Linked DNA regions of Homo sapiens: regions 1, 2 and 4 are each linked to region 3. Evidence: promoter capture Hi-C in 16 types of primary human blood cells and fetal thymus (Javierre and others, 2016). All regions are on one chromosome and are shown on one strand. The core of a region is centred on a gene start or on the middle of the fragment in contact, and the rest is flanking DNA. Distances in the headings are between cores, read along the strand shown.

Region 1 (5,756 bases), core at 2,748-5,247, 5.2 Mb before region 3:
CCGGTCACCGCGGGATCCCGCTGCTCCATCCCGCCGGTGCCGCCGTCGCGCCTCCTCCCGCAGCCCAGCTCTGCCTCCGCCTTCGCTCCCCGACTCCTCCCTTCTCCCTCTCAGTCCCGCAGGGAAGCTGGGCTGGGCGAGAGGGTGTCTCCTGGGTCCACCGTGGAAGCCCGAGGCGCGGGTGCGGAGCCAGCCCAGGGCTGCCGGCGTGAGCTGCAGGGCTGGCCTGGTGCTCATCCTCTGCCCGGGGCGCGGGAAAGGCGAGGGACGCTGTGCTGGATCTGTGTGCTCAGTGGCCATGCGTCGGCCTCAGGACTGGGAACGAGGCGAGAGACACAGATGTGGGTGATTTCCCTGTGGAAGCTGTACCCGAGGCCGTGGGAGTGGAGGGCACTGGGCTGCGAATGGAGACAGGATGCCCCGAGGGCCCGGGAGCGGGAGGTGGAGCGGGTCCCAGACGGCAGGGGCTCGGAGTGGGAGGCAGCGGGACTGGGAGAGCCGCGCTGGGGCCGCAGGGGTGCGCAGGGAGCTTCCTGCCCTTTGCACCTCAGGCTCCGGGAGCTGATTTGTTTCACCTTGGGCAGGTGCAGGATCTGCGCTTGCAGCCACCTTACTTCGTGGGCTGTACCTGAGGTGACAGGCAGGGTCTTCTCTGATGAAGTTACCCACACGAGTCACCACGGGATGACGGTGAGCAGGTGCCACGGAAGGTAACACTGAGCGCATGCGGTTAAAGGACAAGAGGGAAAGGGTGAGGGCAGACCAACGGTCATTTTCACAACTCTTCTATGTTAGTCAGGGTTCTCTAGAGGGACAGCACTGATAGGATAGACCTATATATGAAGGGAAGTTTATTAAGGAATATTGACTCACACGATCACAAGGTGAAGTCCCACAATAGGCTGTCTGCAAGCTAAGGAACAAGGAAGCCAGTCTGAGTCCCCAAACCTCAAAAGTAGGGAAGCCAACAATGCAGTCTTCAGTCTGTGGCTGAAGGCCCGGGAGCACCTGGCAAACTACTGGTGTAAGCCCAAGAGTCCAAAAGCTGAAGAACTTGGAGTCCAGTGTTTGAGGGCAGGAAGCATCCAGCTCGGAAGAAAGATGGAGGCGGGAAGACTCAGCCAGTCAAGTCCTTCCACGTTTGTCTGCCTGCTGTTATCCTACCTGCACTGGCAGCTGATTAGATGATGCCCACCCAATTGAGGGTGGGTCTGCCTCTCCCAGTCCACTGAAATGAAATGCTAATCTCCTTTGGCAATACCCTCACAGACACACCCAGGAACAGTACTTTGTATCCTTCAATCCAATCAAGTTGACACTCAGTATTAACCATCACACTCTGCAAGGAAGGTGTTTTATGTCCATTTTATAGAAGAGAAACTGAGGCTCAGAGAAGTTGTTATTTGTCCAAGATTACAGAGCCAGCTTCTGGCCAACCTTGAGCGATTCAAAAATTGAAGCCCCTTCCACTAGGTCCCACTGACATCTGGATTCCACCTGACTACTGGCTGCACAATTTCCCCTTAAGTCAGTTCCTCTGTGGTTGTGCCCAGCTGCCCCGCTTGGTAGAATTATCCAGTAGACATTTTTCAGTCCTTGTCTTCCACACCATCCCTCTGGTGTTTGACCCAGATCGTGCACTCCTCACAATGTTCCTCTCCTCTGACTCCTGCAAAGCTGCCTGCTTGCTTCTCTGCCTATTTCTCCTCAACATGTTTCATTGGCTTTCTCCTCACAGTCCACCTATGGTTGCTAGTGCTCTCAAGGTTATGTTCTTAGATATCTTCTCCTTTAACTTCACATGAAGAAGCACAAACCACAGTGGCATCATGGGCATGGAGGGAATAGTAACCTAAACAGCCAATGAATGTCAGATCCAGGAGCTGCTGGAAGATGACACAGATGCATGGCCCAAGTGAGGGGGTGGTGGGGAGAGAGGGTAGGAGCGTTTGTGAGCAATGAACCAAGCCATGTCCAGACGTGGGCTTAGGCAGAAAAATGGGGAATGTGGGGGTCCCAGGAAGCTAGCCCTTAGGAAATTGTTTTGGGTGGATTGGGGAATTTGACATGCGGAAGCTTAAAACTTACATTACTAAAGTCATGCCCTTAGGTTAGGGACTATTTTGAGTAGACACTTCAGGAAGCCTGAAGTGTCAGGGCAGCCATCAGGAGCTTGCTTTCCGTGGAGCTCTTTGAGAAAGGGCCCAGAGGGTTTGAAGTCCAACAGTCAGGATTCATAGACACTGGGGATAAGATTCATGGATCACAGTGGGACAATAAAAATTGCTTTTCCCCTGGGGCATGAGGGAGAATCTCTAGGAATTTGCAGAGAGCACTTACAGAATGACACATGGTAACACTCACATGCCATCAGCCCAGCTCCAGAAGGACTTAAACTTTTTCACAGAAAGAACAGAAAATTGGAAAGAGCAAAGCTCCCTTTCAGAGGCAGCTGGAAGCCTCTCCTCCCAGTCTGCAAGTCCCTGGGGCTCTTCCTGTCCCTGCTGCTCTGCACTGGTGTTCCAGAGGCAAACATGGCCCAGGAGCCACATTCAACCCACCATCTCCTCTGGCCAGCTTTTAATAGAGGGTGTTTCAGCTTAATTTTTAGTCAAGAGCAGGCCCTGGGACCCTGAGATCACTGAATGTATTTGGCATTCAGTTATGAAATGAGCCCCTTTAGACAGACCTCGGACTTCTTAGTGGCATCCCAGGCCCTCTATGCCCTTAACTTAGGCTTGTGATGAGGTATCCTTGCGTCTGCTGGTCTTCCTAAAGAGGACCAGCCCCTGGAGGCAAACCTCATTGACTAATCCAGGTACTCTTTCCAATGTGCGGGAGGCCCCCACTAGGCTGCAGTTCTCAGCTGACTGGAACTGACGCCTCAGAGGAGATGTGCTGACCCACTGAGCCCTAGATCTTTCTAGACGTGTTTTTACTCCACCCTACCTTCTCCAGCTCTCTTTGCTCTTGATTTCTGATTTGTGGCTTTGGGCTCCTAACTCTCTATTTTTTCATATTGTTGTTTCTGCCTAGAATGCTCTCCCCATCACCCGACAACTCCTCAGGTCGAGAGTACCTTTTCAGACCTCAGGCCTCTGTGACACCAGACAGTGGCACAAACTCATGCTTCCCTCAGTTTCCACAGAAAACCATGGAATCAAGGAAAGACAAACATGGGCAAAGGCACAGTAGGGTAAAGCAAAAGACAACCACACCCCAATCTCCAGGAAAACTTTCACTGATGTCAAGGTGAATGGTAATCAATTGCCAAGTGTACCTCAGCCTCCTGAGTAGCTGGAACTACAGGCACAAACTACCTTTAGAGATGGAGTCTCATTATGTGTCCCAGGCTGGTCTCGAACTCGTGGCCTCAGGCCATCCTCCTGCATATCTGGGATTACAGGCACAAGCCACTGCACCTGGCCCTTCCTTCTTAACTAGTACAGGAAGGTGGAGAACTTGGGGACACATTCCCAACCAGCAAGAATGCAGTCCATGTGGGCTGGAGACATTCTTCATGCCCTGTTTTCATACATTGTGGCTAGCCCAGAGAGATCTCTCCACTCAGGGATGAATGAGCACATCTTTCTTTCACCTACCAATCACCAATCACCCGCTGCAATACACCATGCAATCTCTGGTGTGTTTTAAGCACAATGATTCAGCCCACCCTGACATGGGTCCCCCCAAATCTTTACCCAAACAGGTCCACTCCAAACCACGTTAACAAGCCACGAGACCTTTATCAGGGATTTTGTAGGTGTTCAGTGTAGAGGGTTTATGCTGCAAACCCTATGGTATAACTTCACTTAAAAACCCTCCAGGCCGGGCGCGGTGGCTCACGCCTGTAATCCCAGCACTTTGGGAGGCCGAGGTGGGCGGATCACGAGGTCAGGAGATCGAGACCATCCCGGCTAAAACGGTGAAACCCCGTCTCTACAAAAAATACAAAAAATTAGCCGGGCGTAGTGGCGGGCGCCTGTAGTCCCAGCCACTTGGGAGGCTGAGGCAGGAGAATGGCGTGAACCCGGGAGGCGGAGCTTGCAGTGAGCCGAGATCCCGCCACTGCACTCCAGCCTGGGCGACAGAGCGAGACTCCGTCTCAAAAAAAAAAAAAAAAAAACCCTCCAAATATATCTTTTCCCCTGGATTCTCTCCTGGAGTCAGCTGCCTCGTTTTCCTCCTAAGAATCTCTGTGTCTGGGCCTCTCTGGCTGGGCTGCTGCAGCCCCTGACTTCCCTGCACAGTTCCTCTTAGTCTCTCCCATTTGCGTCTTCATCCTCATTTGCTGCTGGCCTAACATAGATTGTCCTTGGGATTTGACCCTGTGCTGGAGGCTACTGGCACTCTCCCATGCCTGCCCTCCCTTCTCTCTACAATAATGCATTTGGAATTTTTAGTTGGGTGAACAACCACCCAGAGTAGACTCTACTTCCCAGTGAGGTGTGGCCGTGTGAATCACTCCGATGGGACACGAGTGACATGTGGACACCAGCTCCTAGAAGGGCACTGAAGAGCAGCGACACACTCCTTCCCAGCCCTTGCCTCCTTTCTCCGGGAATACTGTGGTTAGACTCAGGACAGCCCCCTGGAGGCTGTGTGCTGAAGCTCTGTGCCTGAGCCGCAAAGAAAAAATAGAACATGGGCCCCTGATGGATGATTCGACCTTTTATTTCAACTTAAAAAAATGTTTCCAAGTTTTCTCTGTTGTATTTTTTTCTACATGCATTATTTTTTTACCATCCGTAAAAAAATAATTTGAGGCCTATTTTAAATCTTACTTTATTGACTTCCATGATTTTCTCCTATCACAGAAAAAATAAAATAATTGATAACTAGATTCTGAAAATATTTTACAGTTTTGACAACAGGAGTTTGGAGTCCTGGCAGCAGAGGTCCCATTTGGGCCCCTGATTTTCTCTCTCCAGGTCTTCAAGTCTTTAACTGAGCCTTGCGTCTACTGGCCCTGCTCTCCTGCAAACTATTTGACCGTAGGATTTCCCTTCACCACAACATGTGAGGAGCAAAGGAGACAAAGTGAGGGGAGTCAAAGGGTGGTGTTGGTAGAGAGAGAAGAGTCAGTTGCTCCTGTATTCCTGCTTTTTGAGGAGCCAATAAAATGTTTTTTTTAGGCGGAAGGTAGTTACTGGGCCTTCTACTCATTCATGATCAAACCTGGACAAAAACCTGAAGTGCTGCCTCTGCTTCTCATCCTTGTACAGGGCTCAGAGCCCAGGTCCAGGCTCTTTGACTGCAGGAGTGGGAGCTGGGGTCGAGGAGACAGACTGTACTGTATGCCGACCTCCACATTATGAGGCCTGCTCCACTGGAAATCGTCTGGAGGGAGCTGTAGTCACAGCTCTCAGATGGCCAGGCATGCCTCCTTCCTTTGCAATCTGCACAGTCCTCTCCTGGAGGAATGTGGAGAGATCGCTTTGCCGGAGCCTCCTCACTTAACCTGAAACTCGGGTCATGGTCTGAAGGAGGCAGTTCTGCGTCACTCTTAATGATGAAACCAGAGGAAAGAGGCTCTTACTGCTCTAGTTTTCTAAATTTCAAAGATGCAAAGTCTCAGCAAACTCAGAATATAATTGAGCTTCCCCAGGAAAAAGTCTGCGTAGTTCTGGTTCTCTGGCTCTTCTTGATCTTTCTACCCAAGGAGGTCCTATTCACAGAACCATATATATCTCTTGCTAATCTCTCAAGTTAAATGATAAATATTATTTAATTACAAACCATTGTGCTAGCTGCCC
Region 2 (6,036 bases), core at 3,388-5,887, 5.3 Mb before region 3:
CACAATGTCTTTAGGGTGACACATTCACAACACACGACATCTTTAGAGTGACAGGTTAGCACCACACAAACGTCTTAGGGTGACATATTAGCACCACAGAACGTCTCAGGGTGACATGTTAACACCACACAATGTCTTTAAAGTGACATGTTAGCACCACATAAATCCGCATATTGCTAAAGTCTGAGATAGAGAACCCGCCTCTGGCCACTGATTTTTCACTTGGCTTTAATTGCACATGTCAGGGGTGACGTAAAGTACTCTCAAAACTGAAATAAAATATTGCATTGCTTTAAATTCTCATCATTCCATAAGCACCAAAGTTTACAACATGACATCTCCTACAGAATGAAATAAAAACCTCATTTCTTCAACAAAAAGTTAATTTTATTAAAAATGAAGGAAAGCTAATTTAAGGAATATCAATACTTCTAAATTTCATTGAAATAAAACTATACTTAGTAGAAAATCTTTAGGTGTTTTTCCTGATACACACTTAGAGAATATATTAGCTTTTTAAAAACTATAGGTCATTAAGTTTATTTCCAAAAGGCTACATGGTACTTTTAAAATTACTTTCTTACAGGTAATCAATACAGAACCACTTTAAAATGTCAAAAAATGTTGAGGAGCTTATCTCAAAGACCAACAGACCATGTCGTTCCTAGGACACAACTGAGTTCCTTTTTGTTGTGGTGGTTGTTAGCTGCTTATTCATATTACCACAGTATTTCTAAACAATCCATGCATGGCTGTGCCCTGAGTTACTGATTCTAGGTTTCCCCTTGTGGCAGATGAGGGACACTTTCCTTCCTCTGATCTTCCCAAGAGAATTTCACTCTGGTCACCATTTTTAGTTTCACTCTGGTCACCATCCATAATCCTGTGTTCTTTACAGACTATACTATGCAAATATTGTTTGCTCCTGAAACAGGAAATACACTGAATTACAGATATTCTTTTACACCTTTTAGTTTTTCCTGGAGTAACTTTCTCACATTTTATTTGCTTAGTTTTCTTTAAACCAGTACCTAAGCTTTTTCATACCCACCAACAGCTCTGTAAAAAGTCTCTCGATAAGATTTTCCACATGGTCAAATCTACTATGACTTTGCTTTCCCTGGAGGCGACTCTCCATAATTGGCTGCTTTCCAGGTCTTCTGTGACACTGCTGTCCTGGGACTTGCACCTGTCAACTTCCTGGGGATTCTGCTCCCCTGTCTTGTATGGGAGCCCCTCTTCCCTGGATCTGATCCTCCTTCTTAGAGTACTCCCTTGTTGTGGTAGACACCACACTCCAGTAGCTTCCTGAGATGAAGTACAGGGAAATTAAATTTGGGGGACAGGATGTTTTAAACAGTCTTTGCTCTACTCCACATTTAATTGGTAACTTTCTGGGCAGAATGCAACGTTAGAAATCATTTTTACTCAAAACTTGGAAGTTGGCCGGGCACGGTGGCTCACGCCTGTAATCCCAGCACTTTGGGAGGCCGAGGCGGGTGGATCATGAGGTCAGATCGAGACCGTCCTGGCTAATACGGTGAAACCCCATCTCCACTAAAAAATACAAAAAAAAAATTAGCCGGGCATGGTGGCAGGTGCCTGTAGTCCCAGCTACTCAGGAGTTGAGGCAGGAGAATGGCATGAACCCGGGAGGCAGAGCTTGCAGTGAGCCGAGTTCGCGCCAGTGCACTCCAGCCTGGGCAACAGAGCAAGACTCCGTCTCAAAAAAAAAAAAAACTTGGAAATCATTTCCATTTATCTTTTAGCTTCAATGAAACTGTTGCAAAGTCCAATGTCATTTTTGGACTTTGTACATAACCTGTTTTTTTCTTTTCTTTTTTTTTTTTTTTGAGACAGAGTTTCACTGTCGCCCAGGCTGGAGTGCAGTGGCACGATCTCGGCTCACTGCAACCTCCACCTCCTGGGTTCAAGCAATTCTCCTGCCTCAGCCTCCCGAGTAGCTGGGACTACAGGCGCATGCCACTACACCCAGCTATTTCCCGTCTAATGTTTTAAGCATTGTCTCTTTATCCCTTTATCTTAAGCTTTCACAATAACGGGCATGATGTGGATTTGTCTGTCTGCACTCATTGTGTAGGAAACTGGTAGGTCTTTCCAATATGCAACTATGTCCCTCATTTCTTTTTTTTTCTTTTTTTTTGAGACAGGGTCTCATACTGTTACCCAGGCTGGAGTGCAGTGGCGTGATCTCGACTCACTGCAATCTCTCCCTCCCGGGTTCGAGCGATTCTCCTGCCTCAGCCTCCCAAGCAGCTGGGATTGCAGGTGCCCGCTATGAGGCCCAGGTAATTTTTTGTATTTTTTTAGTAGAGACGGGGTTTCACTGTGTTGGCCAGGCTGGTCTCAAACTCCTGACCTCAGTGATCCGCCCACCTCGGCCTCCCAAAGTGCTGGGATTACAGGCATGAGCCACTGCGCCCAGCCTATGTCCCTCATTTCTAGAGCATATTTTTGTGTTATTTTCCTCCCTCCTATTGTGTGTTCTCCCTCACTAGGTCTCCCACTAGTCACATGCTGAACCTCCTGGATTAATCCTCTTTCTTACGTTTTCCTCTCCCATTGTCTATTTCTGCCTGCTTTCTAAGATATGTGACTTTGCTTCCCATTTTCATGAACTTATTAAAAATTCAGCTATTATATATTTTATTTTCAAGAGCTCTCTTTTTCCCTCAAATGTTTGTTTCTTGGATGCAACAGCTTCTCTTATTTCCCTGAGGATATTAATTATGAATTATTATTTATTCGAAGCTTTCTTCCACTTCCTGCTTTCTCTTTGTTTTTATTTCTACTTGTTCAGGTCTCCATCTTTCAAGCTGGGGCTTTTCTGCCATGTCCGCTCATCGGCTACTGGTCTGTGCTCACGCATAAGGCACAGCTCCTCGCTGTCCTCAGTGCACCGGAGGGGCTGCGGAACGGTGGGAATCACTGTGGAGTGGCTGGATGGGGGATTGCCAGGGGTCTCCAAAGAAGTAGACCAACGGGATGTGTAAAAGTAGAGAAAGAGATTCACTCCAAGGAACTGGCTGCAGAGGCTTCATGAGTCCACAAACTGCCTGGGGTGGCCAGCAAGCTGGAGACTCAGGAAGGAGCTGCAGCTGGAGTCTGAAAGCAGAGTGCTGGAGAATCCTCTCTTGCCTGGGGGTCCAGCATTTTGTTCTAGTCAGACCTTCAACTGATTGACAAGGCCCACTCACATCCTATGGGGCAGCTGGCTTCACTCAAAGTCCACCAACTTAAATGTAAATCTCATTCAAAAACGCCCTCAAAGAAACATCCAGAATGTCTGACCACATGTCTGGGCACCAGGGCTCAGTCAAGTTGACACATAAAATTAACCATCATGGATGGCAGACTAACTTTTTAATGGGGGCTTTCAAATACCTGTACTTATGAAACTTTTATCTGAGCTACTTGTTTCTTCGGAAAAGTGACTTCAAGCCCCGAGTGGGGTGGAGGTGGTGCTGCCCCTTGGGGTGAGGGAGAGGTGACGGTGCCTGAGGCTGGCGGTGACAGAGAGGCAGTCTCACCCTGGACCATGGACACTCACTCTCGCCCCCTATTTTTAGTTCTGTGCTTCACTCCAACTCTCTTCTACATCTGGCTTTCCTGAATTGAAAAGAGCCTAGTCAGTTTTTCCAGACCTAACTCCTTTTGTCTCCAGCACGAGTTGAAGGATAGGCAGTTCCCTCCCTGTGCTGGGTGCAGGTGCTCACAGAGGTCCAACCACTGCACATGCTCAAAGAAGCCTCCTGTGCCAGAGAGTCCCCCAAGCCCACGTATGGCAATGCCTACTGGGGACATGGCACTTTCCCCTCCTGAGTTCTGGGGTTCTGTAGAACAAACTGACTTGCTTCTCGTGGGCACCGTCCCCCTCGGGCACTGACGCCATCTTTCATCCCAGCAGGTCAGCTGTCATTCTTTTGCCTGCTTCAGTTCACAGGTTTGCAGCTGGAGCTCCAGATGTCCCCTAGCTTCATCAAAGAACTTCGGTTTCTGTTTTGTTGTTTTTCTGGTTGTTCTGAGATTATTTTCAAGAGGCGAACTGTTTTTATTCTGCTATCATGAAAGTGGAGTTCTTTTTAAGTGATATTTTAAGAGTTTTTGCATATATTGTTCTGATAGCCTTCCAACGACACCCTCCAGTTGAAACTACCACTTTTACATGACTAAACTACTAGACAATGAGAAATAAGAACCAAATTCTAAGCCCCCAACTCACTGAGCAGACCCTTTCTTGGCCAAGGAAGCCTGAGGCAACCTTGAAGCTAAGCTCCCAGTCATGACAGGCTAAGAGGTGGGGCTCACCCTGCTCTGCCCGTCCCCTGCTGACCCCATGAGGCTTTCTGCCCTAAGGGCTAAGCGGGAACCAGATCTTTCAGCCGACTCTGCACTGCCAGCGACAACCACCTGACTGCTCCCCCATCTTCTGTGGCTTCAACAACCCAAGCAGCCAGCACTTGTTCCTGAGAAGGCACCAGGGACGCTCTGGCCAGCCTATGAAGGACATGCAGGGAGGGGTTTTGTTCCTCTGCTTCACCTTTTGACTCAGAGGGTGGAAAATGCTACCCTTGGATCCCGCTTGTGCCACCATTTTCTGAACATGGATCTCAAGAAGGAGCACGAAGTCCAAGTCTGCAGGCACACACTTCTCTAGCAACTACTCCACTCCTCCTGCAGCTCACCGACACATACATTCGGCCACCTGGCTTGGCATACGTTCCTGCTCCCTTTCCACTCCCTCAGAATATTTCTGGCTTCTAGCCCAAGGCTACGTATGATTAGCTGCAGGCTGTAACCCTGTATGAGAAACAAAGCCCTCCTTTCCACATTTCTGAATCGTAGTTCTGCACTGACAACAGCCACGAACCGTGCAGCAGGGAAGAGATGCGGGCAGCTCCCCATGCTGGCTCTACCACGCCACTGCCTAAGAATCTTGAAAGAAAACCTGGCTCAATCTCTAAGTCAAGTACTTACTACATAGTGTTCCAAGTTCCTCACTTTAAAAGCAGATCAATGGAGTATTTTATGATTTGTATTCCTCCCAAGGAAGTCCATAATATACAGCAAAATCAGCCTAAACACATGAAAGACACTGGCATGGTTCTTACATTACTATGTTCCCCTAAGGGAATTAGCATTAAAAAAAAAAAGTTCCGGCCAGGCATGGTGGTGGACGCCTGTAATCCCAGCACACTCGTGGGGCTGCAGGAGAATCACTTAAACCCGGGAGATGGAGTTTGCAGTAGGCAGAGATTGTGTCACTGCACTCTAGCTTGGGCAAAAGTGAGACCCTGTCCCAAAAAAAAAAAAAAAAAAAAGTTCCTGAACCACTGTTAAAACATTTTCCCGGGAAAATACAGAATACACTATGATAGATAATTTTATGTGTCAAATTAAACATGGTGTCTGGGTGTGTCTCTAAAGGTGTTTCCAGTTGAGATTAGCATTGAACGGTGTGGACTCAGTCAGGCAGATGGCCCTCCCCAAAGTGGGTGCACCTCATCCAGTCCCTCCAAGGCCTGAACAGAACCAAAGGCAGAGAAAGAAAACATCTGTTCCTTCCTGCCTGCCGGCTTCAACCAGGGCAACAGTCTCCTCCTGCCCTTGGACTGGGATTTGGCTCCCCTGGGTCTCAGTCTTCTGACTCGGAGTGGAGTTACAGCCCTGGCATTCCCAGGTCTTAGGACTGTAGATGACAGATGATGGGGCTTCTGGGACTCCATGGTTGCGTGAGCCAATTCCTTTAAGAAATCCCATCTCATATATAATATTTATCTCCTATTGGTTGTTTCTCTGGAGAACCCTAACACATACACAAAATCTAACTGTTCAAAATAACAGTGCCATTTTTAAATGAGGTATGGAATTCTGGTTACTTTGAAAGCATGTACCTGCATCATGAAGAAAATTCACAAGCCTGTAATCCCAGTACTTTGGGAGGCTGAGGTGGGTGGATCACCAGAGGTCAGGAGTTCGAGACCAACCTGGCCAACATGGCGAAACTCCATCTCT
Region 3 (6,415 bases), core at 1,488-3,987:
AATATACCAATTCCATGATTCTTGGCTTCCCAGCCTCTAGAACTATGAGAAACAATTATCTGTTGTTTCAGCCACCCAGCCTTTAGTATTTTGTCATGCAAAGTGACTTAATACAATGGTTTAAAAAAAGATAGAAAGACATACAAAGTGGTATCAATATTGATATCAGGAGGCCAAAGTGGAGGACAATCAAGGAAGTGACAATAGATGAGGTCTATCTCTTCTGTGATAACAAAGACTGGATCATCTACTGCAATGAGAGGCAGAGTACTATAAAGGATCTGAATGTAATTAGAATAAGTTTAGAATTGTTAATTGGTAGATGATAAAGAGAGACAACTGGATCAAGAAAGGAAGTACTAAACTCAGTAAAAGGTCTACACAGGTTTGGAATGGGGCAAGTAGAAATCAGCAATATAATATTTTATGATTTTTCTTTGATATTTGTGAAAGTCCACTGAAGAGCATACCAGTGTGTATGTAATTAATTCTGAAATGACCGTCTTTATGAGAATGTATTAGAAATAACGTGTATTTAGGTTTGTTACATCCTGAAAGTACTTATCATTTACAATTAATTGTTTCCAGGATGTACAAAGTCATTGAAAGCCTAGGACAAATTATATTGAACTCTGTCCCCAAATTGCAGGTATTACTTTTTGAAACTCTTAATAGTTAATAATAAGAGCTACTATTAATGAAATGTTTTATCAGGTTTCAGGGATTCTGCTAAGCACTTTACAAGTGTTAATTCATTTGATTCTTACAAATGTATAAAAGAAGTAAGATTATTCCTAATTTATGTATGAAGAAACTGAAAATTTTGGACTTCTTACAATCTGACATTTATTCTTTATTTTAGGTATTTTTACATAAAATGGCCCTTACTTATTATCTTACGAAGTTTCACTCTTAGGTGAGTTTTTTTTTTTTTTTAACATAAAATGACCCTTACTTATTATCTTATGAAGTTTTACTCTTAGGTGAGTTTTACAAGTAAGGATACACAGGCATAAAGAGAATAGTAACTAGCCCTGGGTCGTACAGCAACTGAGTTTTTGCCAGAGCTCAAGGCCAGACAGTCTGAGTCTAAAGCCTGTTCTCTAAACTCCTCTGTTTCACTGATTCAGGCAGTGAAATACATGGGACAGATGAGCTCTATACTTGGTTCTGACTTGGTGGTACAAAGTCTGTTAACACCATTTTAGCCCTATGTTAGCTTTGCTAAGCCATTTCTTCAACCTATAATTTCTTAGAATAATGTTTAAAAGTATTCTTCCTATAGCATTTGGCCCTTTCCTTTTCCGATGCTAAAAATGTTGATCTTTTTACATTCCTGCCTGCCAGACAGCTTTTATACAGAAAATAGTACCTGTGGCTTTCCTTTGGAGGTGTTTCTCATCATTTAGAGGAACTCCATTTACAGGAGTTCTTACAGAGAAACCACATGGTGCAGATGTCAGTAAGAGGTCATCAAACCTGCCTCCATGGCTGTGGAGCTATTTATGCAGAGTTTGCTTCATTTCAGCTTCTGTTCTTATTGGAGCCAAAAAATGTACGTTCAAGTACTTAAATTTTTCCCATTTTATTTCAATCCTTAAAACTAACTCTTTCATAATATCAGTGAATTCATTCTTTCAAAGGAGAGAGACAGATAAGGAGGATTTCTATACAATTATCAAAGTGATACATAAATTCCCCTGTGGTAAAACAAGCTTATCCATATATCTAGAATAAATAATGTTATATACTTTGTGTTAATCACTAATGAATGTTCTTTTCTTAAAGAATAAATTTTCTTTTACAAATAAGTTTATAAGGTTTATCATTCCTTTGTTTCTTATAATCTGTAATTTAAAAATAAAACCTTTTTCAGATCATTGTAATTTTGTTAATTTAACTGCCTAAATATTGAATCTTATGTCCATACTCTCTTCCCTTGAGCATTTAAAAAATAGAAAGTTCATGTCACTTCATTTACCTCCAAGTCTTGCTCTGATAGAAATGTCTGGTACTTCCCTGGAATTCCATCTCCTGTTCTGTTGCAGTTCTTCTGATAGAATTTTTTGCCTTTTTATTGTTGTTTGAAATCCTGTGTCTGGTCTGGGAACTCGATGTTGAGGTTTCACATCACTAAAATCCACTAGGGTTGGTATGGTTCTGCCAATGCCAGGATTTAAATCAGCATCACCACCAGGACTCATAAACCCTGAACAGGAATCACCTAAGGTCACATCATCCCGAAGTGGAAATAATGGATAATGTGGCCCATATGGTGGGGGATAAGGATCATGTAAATGATAGTCTGGCAAAACTGAAGGGGGATAAGGGTGAAATTTAAGAAAAGCAGGGTTGCATTTCTTTTCAAACCTGCCATAGTTATGTCTGTTCTCAAGACCTTTCACAAAAGGCATGTTCATTTTTCTTAAGAGATCACAATAGTGTGGGTAATCTATATTCTCAACAGTTCCTGAAAGGATGGACCTTTTAGAGATACTTATCTTTCCAGGTGTGTCCTGAATTTCTACATCCATGGCCTTTTTCTTTAGAATTTTTGATAACTATAAAGTATTTCTGATAATTCCTTTATATTTAACTATATAAACTCTATTGCCAATAACTAAAGATCTGTGTTAAACTAGTATAAAATTGACACAGCTTTCTAAATGTTGGCAGATAATTTTGTTTTTCTTTTTAAGGCAAATATTTTCCTCCACCAAAGGAAGAATAGGGCAATGAAGGAACATGACATAAGGAGAATAAAGCAGAGCCCTTGTTGCCTGGCAACGGCTAGAATTCTTAACACATTGAACCATTTATTATGTACATCACAATTCTTAAGAAAAACAAAAATAGCCTTGGTACTAATATTTCCATGATACTTTTCTCCCCAGTGCTCAGGAAAGCTGTGTTCATTTACTTATTTTAAAATTTTTCCATAAGTTGGTATTTTATGGGTATAAAATATATTTAAGGAGTGTAAATAAAGCAGTTAATTCAGTGACAATACATTTCTCAAAAGTATATATGTGACTACAATTAAGTATTTATATATATAACACTTGCTATCTAATTAAATGTAAATCTAAATGCACTACAAAATATAAACATTACTAAAGTTAAATTGGTACATCTAATTTTTTTTTTTTGGTGGAGTCTCACTCTGTCGCCTAGGCTGGAGTGCAGTGGTGTGATCTTGGCTCACTGCAAGCTCCGCCTCCCAGGTTCACGCCATTCTCCTGCCTCAGCCTCCCAAGCAGCTGGGACTGCAGGCGCCCGCCACCATGCCCGGCTAATTTTTTGTATTTTTAGTAGAGATGGGGTTTCACTGTGTTAGCCAGGATGGTCTCGATCTCCTGACCTTGTGATCTGCCCGCCTCGGCCTCCCAAAGTGCTGGGATTACAGGTGTGAGCCACTGTGCCCAGCCCTAGTATATCTAATTTTTAAGAAAAACAGAAAATTATAATGAAAGTACAGGTACATCTTTACATGCCCTAAATTATCTTTACTTCCCTTAAATTTGCCATGGTGTCCAGAGTAAGAACAGTAAGAGTTTTAAGTTCATTTTAGGAAACCACAATGGGTATCAGTTAACTGTCTACACACAAAATATCATTTAAATCACTAATGTATTGGTTCACTTAAAAGCTCTTTCACCTGGATAATTTCATCTTGCATGAACTACTATAAGAGGAAATGCAAATATTAGAATTTGGGGTAAAAGTTCACATCATCCTTACTGCAGCAAAAATGTTAAAACAGGCAAGATTCTAGCTTTGAAGAGTCAGGCACATAATCGTTAATCAGGCCAACTGTCAAGGGTGATATGTTTGGTACAATCAGAATGCCTATGCCCCATTGAAAGTCTTTACAATTTTGAGATATACTATTAAACAAGTGAGATTAAATTAGGTGGTTAGGCTGTCAGTTTTAAATCCTTCATCCAGATCATAGCATATCAAGTGACAGTTTTTAGTCCACCCATGATCACTCATTTCTTCATATCAAAAGTGATAACTCACTTGTAATTAGGCATTCTACATTTAGTTGCTCAAACTTCATTCTTCAATGTATTTAAACCAACTGCTTAAGATTTATTTCTATCACAGCTCTGCTCCCATTAAGTAAATCCTTCCAGCAGCAGAAAAGTAGAGGCATGAGTCTCTTTCAATTTCTCTAAAACAAGTTCTAGCTATAAATGGCCTCTTAGGCTGTGTATGGGAAAATAATAACCCCCATAACTTTGTACTTAGAATGGATCCTTTACAAGAGACAGATTAACAAGAGAAAAACAGATGTTTATTAATATATTTCATTTATATATGAGGAACACCCAGAGAATGAGTAGTTCTCAAAGAAGCGTCTTTGAATTCCAGCTTGTATAGCATCTTCAACAAAGACTAGGAAATTTTTAGAGATGTGACAAAGGAAAAGGACTCTGAGTCTCTACAGGCAGTAACTTGGGCTAAGCAAACAAATAGCAGACAAAAGATGGTTTAAAAAAAGCTAATATTAATTCCTCTGATATCATTTCAAGGCTAATGAGGGTCTGACGCTGTCTTCAGTGGTTAACCTTTGTTCTCCCTGGTAAAGGAGTGGGGCAGGATACCTTTTCTCTTTCTAATCTATGTCTTGCTTCTGGGTAAAAAGAGGGCAGGTGGACAGCTCTCCTGCATCTGCTGGTTCTTGTCTTCAGGGCAGCAATCCTTCATATTTGAGAAGGTATATTCTGGTCTCCCACACAGGATAGATGGTTTTGTATGTTTTGCTGAATTTAGGTGACACTATAAGATGATCTTCCGGTCTATTTTAGAAAGTAAATTTCATCTATGGTTATTTCCTCTGTCCTTCCATCAAGCTTCTTTCTGAGGCTAAAGGCCTTACTTACCTTTAATTCCCACTAAGTGTGTATTGCATTTATCTCCCAATTAAGTTCCACACATCCATAAAATACTATCTGCTGACATTACTAGATCAAAGCAGTCCACTGAGGGCTTTACACGTCTTAACTCATGCATTCTCACTATCTGTTGTTCGAAACTGGGCCCCACATCTACCACCTGGCTCATAAAAAGGGCTTTTCGATCATAAACGCTATGCAAAGGTAAAAGCACGGGATTTGGGGCCCAACGATTCTCTCTCAGCTCTAGGATCTTGGACAAATCACTGATGTTCTTGAGGATGCCCTGCGTGGCTGTGTTGTCCTGAAGGCCCGGGGGCTGCACAGCACAGTTGGCGCGTGTAGGCCCCACCAGCTATGTGGAGACACAGGCTGACCCCTAGTCTACCACCCCGGCGGAAGTGGGAGCACGTCCATCAGGTCCGTTGTTCCGGTCCTCCGCCCGCCAACTTCCGGCTGCAGGTGGGCGCGCGTTGCCTAACGACCTTCCGCGCGGACGGTGGGCAGGCGACGGCGGCGTGTGGATGGAGGCCTTCGCCCTTGGCCCAGCGCGGCGGGGCAGGCGGCGGACCCGGGCCGCCGGCTCCCTGCTCTCTCGGGCCGCCATCCTCCTCTTTATCTCCGCCTTCCTGGTGCGGGTGCCCTCATCAGGTGAGGGTCCGCGCCGCCCTGCCGGCTCCGCAGGGACAACCGCAGCTTCCCCCACTCTTCGAATTGCCTTTTCTTGTGTCACGTGCATCCGTTTTATATAGAGACACCTTGCTCACTAATACGTGACAAGAAAGGCTTATTTTTTATGGAAGTCGTACAAAGTCACTCTGCATTTGCATAGAGGAGTGAATGACAGGAAATTAAGGTATAGATGGATCACTACGTCACCCACAGTTGAAGTTTTACAATTAAATTGCTTTGTTGATAAACTCCCCAATTCAGTCCATGGGTCATCTGCCAGGTTTGCATTTCAGTGTGTGAACTCTGTAATGATGAGATCAGTGTCTTTCAAATAGGCAACCTGCTGCTTTCAAATTATCCGTGATGGTGGAGCGCCATCTATTGGTTTTAGCTGTGAAATACAGGAAATAATGCGATTTTAAAGTTTTGACCTCTAAAGAATTGAAGTACTTTTCTATACTGTTTTAAAAATACATGTAAGATACTGATGAACAAACACTGACGAAGGATGTGAAAGTTTAATTGAACTGTTATTTAACTAGAAAGGTTTTGGCTGCATTCTAGACTCAAAATTCTAGACCCAAAATTGATAAAATCACAGAGATTTGCTTCAAATGAAAAAAGTTGTTCAAATAAGGAATAATGAAAAAAAGAAGTCCTCCAAGAATATAAATGTAAAAGGTTTGTGGAGGTAGGTAGGGGATAGGGGAGGAGAAAGGAAACAAATGGAGTGAATAGAGATTTAAAAATCAAAGTCCAGGCATCAGGAATCCAAAGATTATTCTTCTATAAGTATATGAATAGCCGATAGCCATCAATTGCCATGTAGGAGAAAGATGCTT
Region 4 (6,296 bases), core at 1,522-4,021, 5.3 Mb before region 3:
AGGAATACCAATAGCTTACATATTTGCATTTCACCACATGTACGTAATTAACCAATTTCCCAAAAATTACAAACTATGACAGCTCACCCAATATGAAATAGATAACTTGAACAGCCCTATAACTATTTTAAAAACGGAATTTATTTTAAAAGTCTAGAAAAATAAATCTCCAGACCTAGAAGTTTGTACTGGAGAATTCTACCAAACATTTAAGTTACACTAATACCAATTCTTCCACCAATTAACACAGTCTGTCCCAGAAAACAGAAGAGAAGAAGATACTTCTCAACATGGTTTATTAGGTCAGTATGACCCTGATACCAAAACCAGAGAAAGACAGCACAAGACAGGAAAACTGTAGGCCAATATCCTTCATGAATAGAGATGCAAAAACCTTTACCAAAATGTTAGCAAACAGAAAGCACGCCCATACCCACATACAAATCTAACGAATATCCGGGCCTGTTTGTGGGGCTTCTGTTTGTGCTCCTGTCTTCCCTTCCCTGCGCCCGTGGTGGACTCTGGAATCCTTGTTGCTTTCACTGCCTGCCTATCAGTGCTCCTCTTTTCAGAACTTTCTTCAATATTCACTCTTGCTATTTTTTCTACTTACTAATATTTCTAATTGCTAATATTAATTATTCATACTTCTTTATATGATATTAAATATATTTAAGTAATTATTCAAGCTTCCCATGAATACACCAATATTAAATATGCAACATTACAGATGAAATGCAGAGGAGTAAACTATTTCTTCCATTGCTAACAGCAAGCCTTCTACGTTCTGTCTGCATAGACACCTCACAAAAAACCTAAGAACACTTGGAAGACATTCACAGGAGCACAAAACAATAGGTAAGGTGAAGAGATTCAACATAATTTTCAGCAATAAGCTACTCTGCTGATTATTTTACAGTTTGGAAGTATTACTTGAGCCAGGTCAAATATGAACAGTGCCAGTCCACAAGGGCAGGAGAACCAATTTCACCCAAACATTTAATCTATAGCATTTTTCTCACTCTTACCTTCAAAGAGCGAATAGGGTCTGTCAGGAATGCGGCACCCGTGTGCTCCGTAATCTAGACACCACTCTGCAAACTGAAAAGAAAGGGATTTCTTTTTAAGACTGGAGTTTCTACCTGGTGAAAAGGCAATAAATGAGAATGCAATGTCTTCACAGGCATCAGGGAAGTGGACCCCCAGCTGTAGGGCATTCAGCGTGGGCTCCATGGGCTACTGCACCCCCTCTTCCAGGGGTGAGGCCCAGCAAGGCTCTGCTTGCGGCTGCCTCAGCTGTAGAGTGGGGTCTGCCTTACAGCTGCTGGGAAGTCCGAGGTGAAAACCGAACGGCTCAACGACACTCTGTTCTCCCTGGCACCTTCCTCCTGCCGCTTCAGCTGATGATTCCAGAAGCAACTCGAAACGCCTGCTCTATCCTGAACAAAAAACCCTGGCTCTAAAATGGCTCTCAGCAGCAGCTGCTGGCTCCCCTGGCCCCAGCTGGGAAACAGCTTCAGCCCTGCCTGGGGCGCCGCCTCTCACTGCAGCCCCTCCACAGCTGCTGCTGCTGCTTGGCAGCCTCTCCACCTTCCCAGCCCCCGGCCCTCAGCCCTCCCTGTGCTCTCCTCTGAGCTCCTTGACCCTTTCTTCTTAGACCTCTTCAATGGGTGTTTCCATATCGTTTTAATAAACTTCCCTTTTGTGCCTAAGCTATCATAATTTGAAGGGTCATTTGTACACTAAGAATCATAAGTAATAAACATGAGGAGTATCAAGTTCAGCACACGTAAAAAGAAACTCACTCTGCTTTTCCCCTCCCAATCTGCTCACTCTTAGCTTGTTTGATGGCCCATCTACCCAGTTTTCCGAGTCAGACAACAGAAAGACCTTCAGATATTTCCATCTTCTCCACATTTAAAAACATGCGTTAAATTCTGTGGGCTTTACATCATAGGTGTTTCTAAATGTCTCATTTTTTATCCCAACCTATGCTTTGGTTTATGACTCAACATTTCTTGCATTAATTACTAAACCACTATTTGGGGAAACCCAAGCCCGCCTCATTCTTCCTACTGGGACTACAGCAATCTTTCCAAAAGAGGAGTCTGAATATGGATTCCAAACCCTTCCATGAGCCCCCATCTTCCATATCAGTATCCAGTGCTAGCTGATTATTAAACTTACTGGGGGAGCTTGAAAAATATTAGTGCTGAGGCTTCCTCATTTAACTGGTCTAGAGTGAGGTCCAGGCATGATTTGAAAGCTTCCCAGTGGTACAAGGTTGAGAACTACTGGCTACAGGGAAGAACTAACTTTCTCTGGCCTCTACCCACCTGTCTGACTTTTACCTTTGGCCACACATTTCCTTCCCTTTGCATCCCAAAGGCTGAAGTGCTTACGGAGTCAGGAACACACAGAGCTGGTTCGTGCTCTGCAGCTCTGCCCAAGCTATTCTCCTTATCAGAACTGCATTCCACCTCTGCAGGCCACCCCTGCCTGGCCCACCTGAAAAACCCCTCATCTTTAAAGAACCGGCTGCGTCTCACCCCTCCTGCGGTCTTCTCGCATTGCCCATATTTGCATAGTCATCTACCATCATCACATCATCAAGGCTGGCCCAGGCCTGCGGAATCTGGCTGCTCCCCGCTCGCTGGCTCCTGTTTTGCCCCATCCCCCGTGCTCCAGCCACAGTGTAGTTCACACAGGCCCTGGGTGCTCACACCTCCGGGCCTTTGGAACAGCAGTTTCTTCTCCTTTTCACATCTTTCCTCATCCCCCTTTGCTTAATTTCGAGCTGTCCCTCAGGTCTTGGCTGAGACATCCCTTGCTGACCTGCTATGCCAAGTTGGGCCCTGCCCTCTTTGCTTCCACAGCCTCCTTCATGCTTCCATCAGTGGGGGAGCCACAGATGTGTGTGCATTTTCCAGTGCACCAACGAGGTAGGGCCCATTCCACTGGGGTTGAGAAGTCTTCAGAAAGTAATAGATGTTCAAAAAGTATAAAGAACATATCAGCCGCAATGCCTCCATCTAACAAGGGTCACTGTACACACTTTAGTGTATTTTCTTCCAATCTTTTTTCTGTGTGCACACAACTACATTTTGTGAAATGTGTACATAATAAAAATACTAGCAAACATTTACTGAGTCTTGCTCTATGCCATTCATCTTCACATGTCCAGTGCATGTTTACTGAGTTTCTACTCGGTGCTATGCACTGCTCCAAGTACTAGTGTAGAATAGTGACCCAGACAGACAAGATCAAGAAGCTTATGTTCTACCAGCCTACACACTCAAGAAACAAGCCAAAACATACAATGAGCAACTGAGTGATCATCCACTTGGGGGGTCTCAAAGATCCCTCCAAGAATGTCACAATTCAGATCAGCATGGCAAGGAGCTGAAGGAAGAGTGCTCCTGAAGGGAACAGTTAACGACAGGTCCAGCGGAAACAAGAGTGACACACTCCGTTCTTAGAGAGGGCAACATGGCTGTATTATGGCGGGCTAGAGGGCAGGGTAAGGCAAGGAGATCAGGCAGAGACACAGAGAGGGGCCAAGGTGCGCAGGGCTCTGTCAACTCAGCGGAGGAGCATAGGCTCCATCTGCAGTCAATGGGAAGCCGTGGAGGGTTTTGGCAGGACGATTACAAACAATCTGCACATTAGCTCAGTTCTGCTTGGAACATCCTTAGGAGGTGGGTAGTATTTTTTTTCTGTCTGTACAAATGAGGAAACTGAGGCTTGAAGAAGAGACATATCCAAACTCATAAAGCCAATAAATGGCACAGGTGGTAATTCTCATCACGTAGTGACTCCAGGACACATATTCTTCAGAAGCCATTGACATTTGTCCTCTCCATTCTACAGACAGGGACACTGTGGCCCAGAGAAACCACAGATAAGGCTGTGCCAGAAGAAAAAGAGGAAGCTACAGAACTGGGAGAAACAGGTTAAAAGAAGGAACAGGAGTTGTACTTCTGGACTCTGGATTCTGTGCACACTCGGGGTTGTTCAGAAGCAGTTCCAACAGAGCCACCCTCACCTTGCAAGCTCGGTAGAGGTACTTCTTATCCTGCGTGAGACGGTAAAGGGACAGGAAGGAATAGCCGTTGCCAGCAGTCCCATGGCATATCCCGTAGCCCTTCCGCAGCAAACCTCGCTGCCAAATCACATCGCTACACTCCATGGCCTCTTTCAAGTACTTCTCCTCCTTAAAGACCTGGGCAAATTAAAAACAAAGCAGTGTTAAAAAGACAGTTTCAACGATGAGTTGGCAAAATACTTTCCCTTTCTGGTTAGAATATGGCATGATATTAGGAAAACTGAAATGGCACTGGGGGTGAAAAACAGACAAACAAACAAAAAAACACCAGCAACACAGTACATAGAATCTCGCAATCTCAATCCATTAGCCCAGCGGTCTCCAACCTTTTTGGCACCAGTGACTGGTTTTGTGGAACCATTTTTCAATGGCCAGGAAGGTGAGTGGGGGATGGTTTCGGGATGAAACTGTTCCAGCTCAGATCATCAGGCATTAGTTAGATTCTCATAAGGAGCGCGCAACCTAGATCCCTCGCATAAGCAGTTCACGATACGGTTCGCTCTCCTGCGAGAATCTAATGTGGCCGCTGATCTGACAGGTGGCAGAGCTCAGACAGTAATGCAAGTGATGGGGAGCGACTGTAAATACAGTTGAAGCTTCGCTTGCTCGCTGCTGCTCACCTCCTGCTGTGCAGCCCAGTCCCTAACAGGCCACGGACCAGTACCAATTCACAGCCTGGGGGCTGGGGACCCCTGCATTAGCCTATTCCCCTTGTCCTCCTTCTGTTTCACGGTTTTACTAAAGTAATGCTAAAATTTAGTTTTTAAAATTAAAATTAAAGCTGCCATATCTTTTTGGTAAGATGTTTTCCTTGTTTCTTGGCACATACATCCCATAGCTCTAAAACTTCTGCTCTTGTAGAAGGCAATCGAGAGAGTGAGGCCCTGTTAGCAGGGCAAGAGTATCCAATACACTGATCAGTACACATCAACAGGACCTGAGGACCCTGCACCACCAGGCTAGGAAGATCCATCTTCACCCATCCCAAGGAAGCTGGCACAAAGCTTTCTGGGGTCCAGGAGCAAGCACCACCTCCCTGAGTTGTTTATATGGTCAGCTGCAGAGACAGGCAGGCTCAGTGAAGGCAAGAGACGGCAAGAAGCAGCTGTGGGTTTTCACTTCCTGAGATTCCCTTGTACATTTTCTTCTTTCTCCTCACAGGCCATGTACTGTTTTCCTGATCCTTTTCTCAGAGTCTGTTCTTAGTTATCCCTACCTGCTAAACTCATCACATTCCAGTGCAAATGGGTTTTGGACAATGAATCAGAGGCACAAAGGTCATCACTACTTGGGTGGCAGGTCAGGTCCCTCTACTTGTGACTGATGAGCTGGACACTCAGCCGAGAAGGGCTCTGAGGCCTCAGGAAAAAGGCGGAGGTTGGGGGGCAGGGCATGAGAACTGCGACCAGTGTCTACAGAGGGCACAGCGGGAAACAGAGGCACAGCAAATCACCAGGGAGATTAAATGTTCCCAAAGTTAGGCTGTTAGGGAATCAGACGCAGGACACCCTCTATCAGTCACAAAGGCTGCTAAGATGTGGGCTCTGGGGTCAGACAGCCTGAGCTGAGTCCCTACTGTCACCTTTTAACTGTGTGACCTTGGATAAGTCACTGAAAGTCTATGTCTTAGTTTTCTCAACTATAAAGGGATGACATTCCTTCACCTCAGTGGCTTGCTATGAAGATTAAAATGTGATCACATCCATGGAGCTCCTGGAACAGTGCCTGGCACATGGGAAGTGCTAGCTATTTCCTGGCTATGATTAACCATTACTCTTTCTACGGTATTGTGCCGGCACACACACTTCATCCTGTCACTTGCATCTTAAGCCTCTGAAAATGAACTGTAAAGGAAAACATGTTTTCCCATCCTAAGGAAATATTTGGTCAAAGCTAATGGGTGAGAAGATATTGTTTGAGAGGCTGTGTTCTGAAATCACACAGTGAGGCCAGCCCTAAAGTGAGCTGGAGCTGCCCCTGCTGGTGGAGCCTGGGTGAGTGATGGTCCACAGGGAAACTGAACAGGGTTCCTTCATGCCGTCCCTGCGCCTGCGAGGCTGAGGCTGCTAGAGCCATGCCCACAATGCAGCCTGCACTGCTGCTTCTCAGCACCAGCAGCCTACCATGCCCACTCCTGCCACCACATACACTCATGCTCTAAGCAAACAGCTACTTCTAACAGCGAGACATC

What was found. The method cuts DNA at HindIII sites, captures the fragments that hold promoters and counts their contacts. A CHiCAGO score of 5 or more calls a contact.
Region 1: a fragment that was not itself captured here is called in contact with the fragment with the promoter of SPMIP7 in region 3 in 1 of 17 cell types (neutrophils); the score reaches 6.0 in neutrophils.
Region 2: a fragment that was not itself captured here is called in contact with the fragment with the promoter of SPMIP7 in region 3 in 1 of 17 cell types (neutrophils); the score reaches 11.0 in neutrophils.
Region 4: a fragment that was not itself captured here is called in contact with the fragment with the promoter of SPMIP7 in region 3 in 1 of 17 cell types (neutrophils); the score reaches 8.2 in neutrophils.

What each region holds. Positions count from the first base shown.
Region 1 is chr7:55,249,236-55,254,991 of GRCh38, reverse strand. The region is part of intron 2 of ELDR (EGFR long non-coding downstream RNA); the gene reads left to right. Among named protein-coding and RNA genes, the nearest start is that of ELDR, 3.5 kb to the left of the region's middle. RefSeq lists a silencer at 1-240. The HindIII fragment of the contact is 3,838 bases long and covers 2,079-5,756 here.
Region 2 is chr7:55,404,797-55,410,832 of GRCh38, reverse strand. The region is part of intron 5 of LANCL2 (LanC like glutathione S-transferase 2); the gene reads right to left. Among named protein-coding and RNA genes, the nearest start is that of LANCL2, 42 kb to the right of the region's middle. The HindIII fragment of the contact is 3,726 bases long and covers 2,775-6,036 here.
Region 3 is chr7:50,092,205-50,098,619 of GRCh38, reverse strand. It overlaps SPMIP7 (sperm microtubule inner protein 7), which reads right to left and starts at 2,737. Exons shown (of 9, transcript NM_001161834.3): 1 at 1,982-2,737. The coding sequence starts at 2,534. ZPBP (zona pellucida binding protein) reads left to right here and starts at 5,374. Exons shown (of 8, transcript NM_007009.3): 1 at 5,374-5,552. The coding sequence starts at 5,426. LOC124901630 (a long non-coding RNA gene) reads right to left here and starts at 5,341. Exons shown (of 2, transcript XR_007060321.1): 1 at 4,890-5,341; 2 at 4,279-4,805. RefSeq lists silencers at 5,281-5,440, 5,521-5,570. The HindIII fragment of the contact is 3,144 bases long and covers 1,718-4,861 here.
Region 4 is chr7:55,423,180-55,429,475 of GRCh38, reverse strand. It overlaps LANCL2 (LanC like glutathione S-transferase 2), which reads right to left. Exons shown (of 9, transcript NM_018697.4): 7 at 4,046-4,222; 8 at 1,029-1,101. Among named protein-coding and RNA genes, the nearest start is that of LANCL2, 61 kb to the right of the region's middle. RefSeq lists enhancers at 984-1,486, 1,487-1,991. The HindIII fragment of the contact is 1,005 bases long and covers 2,269-3,273 here.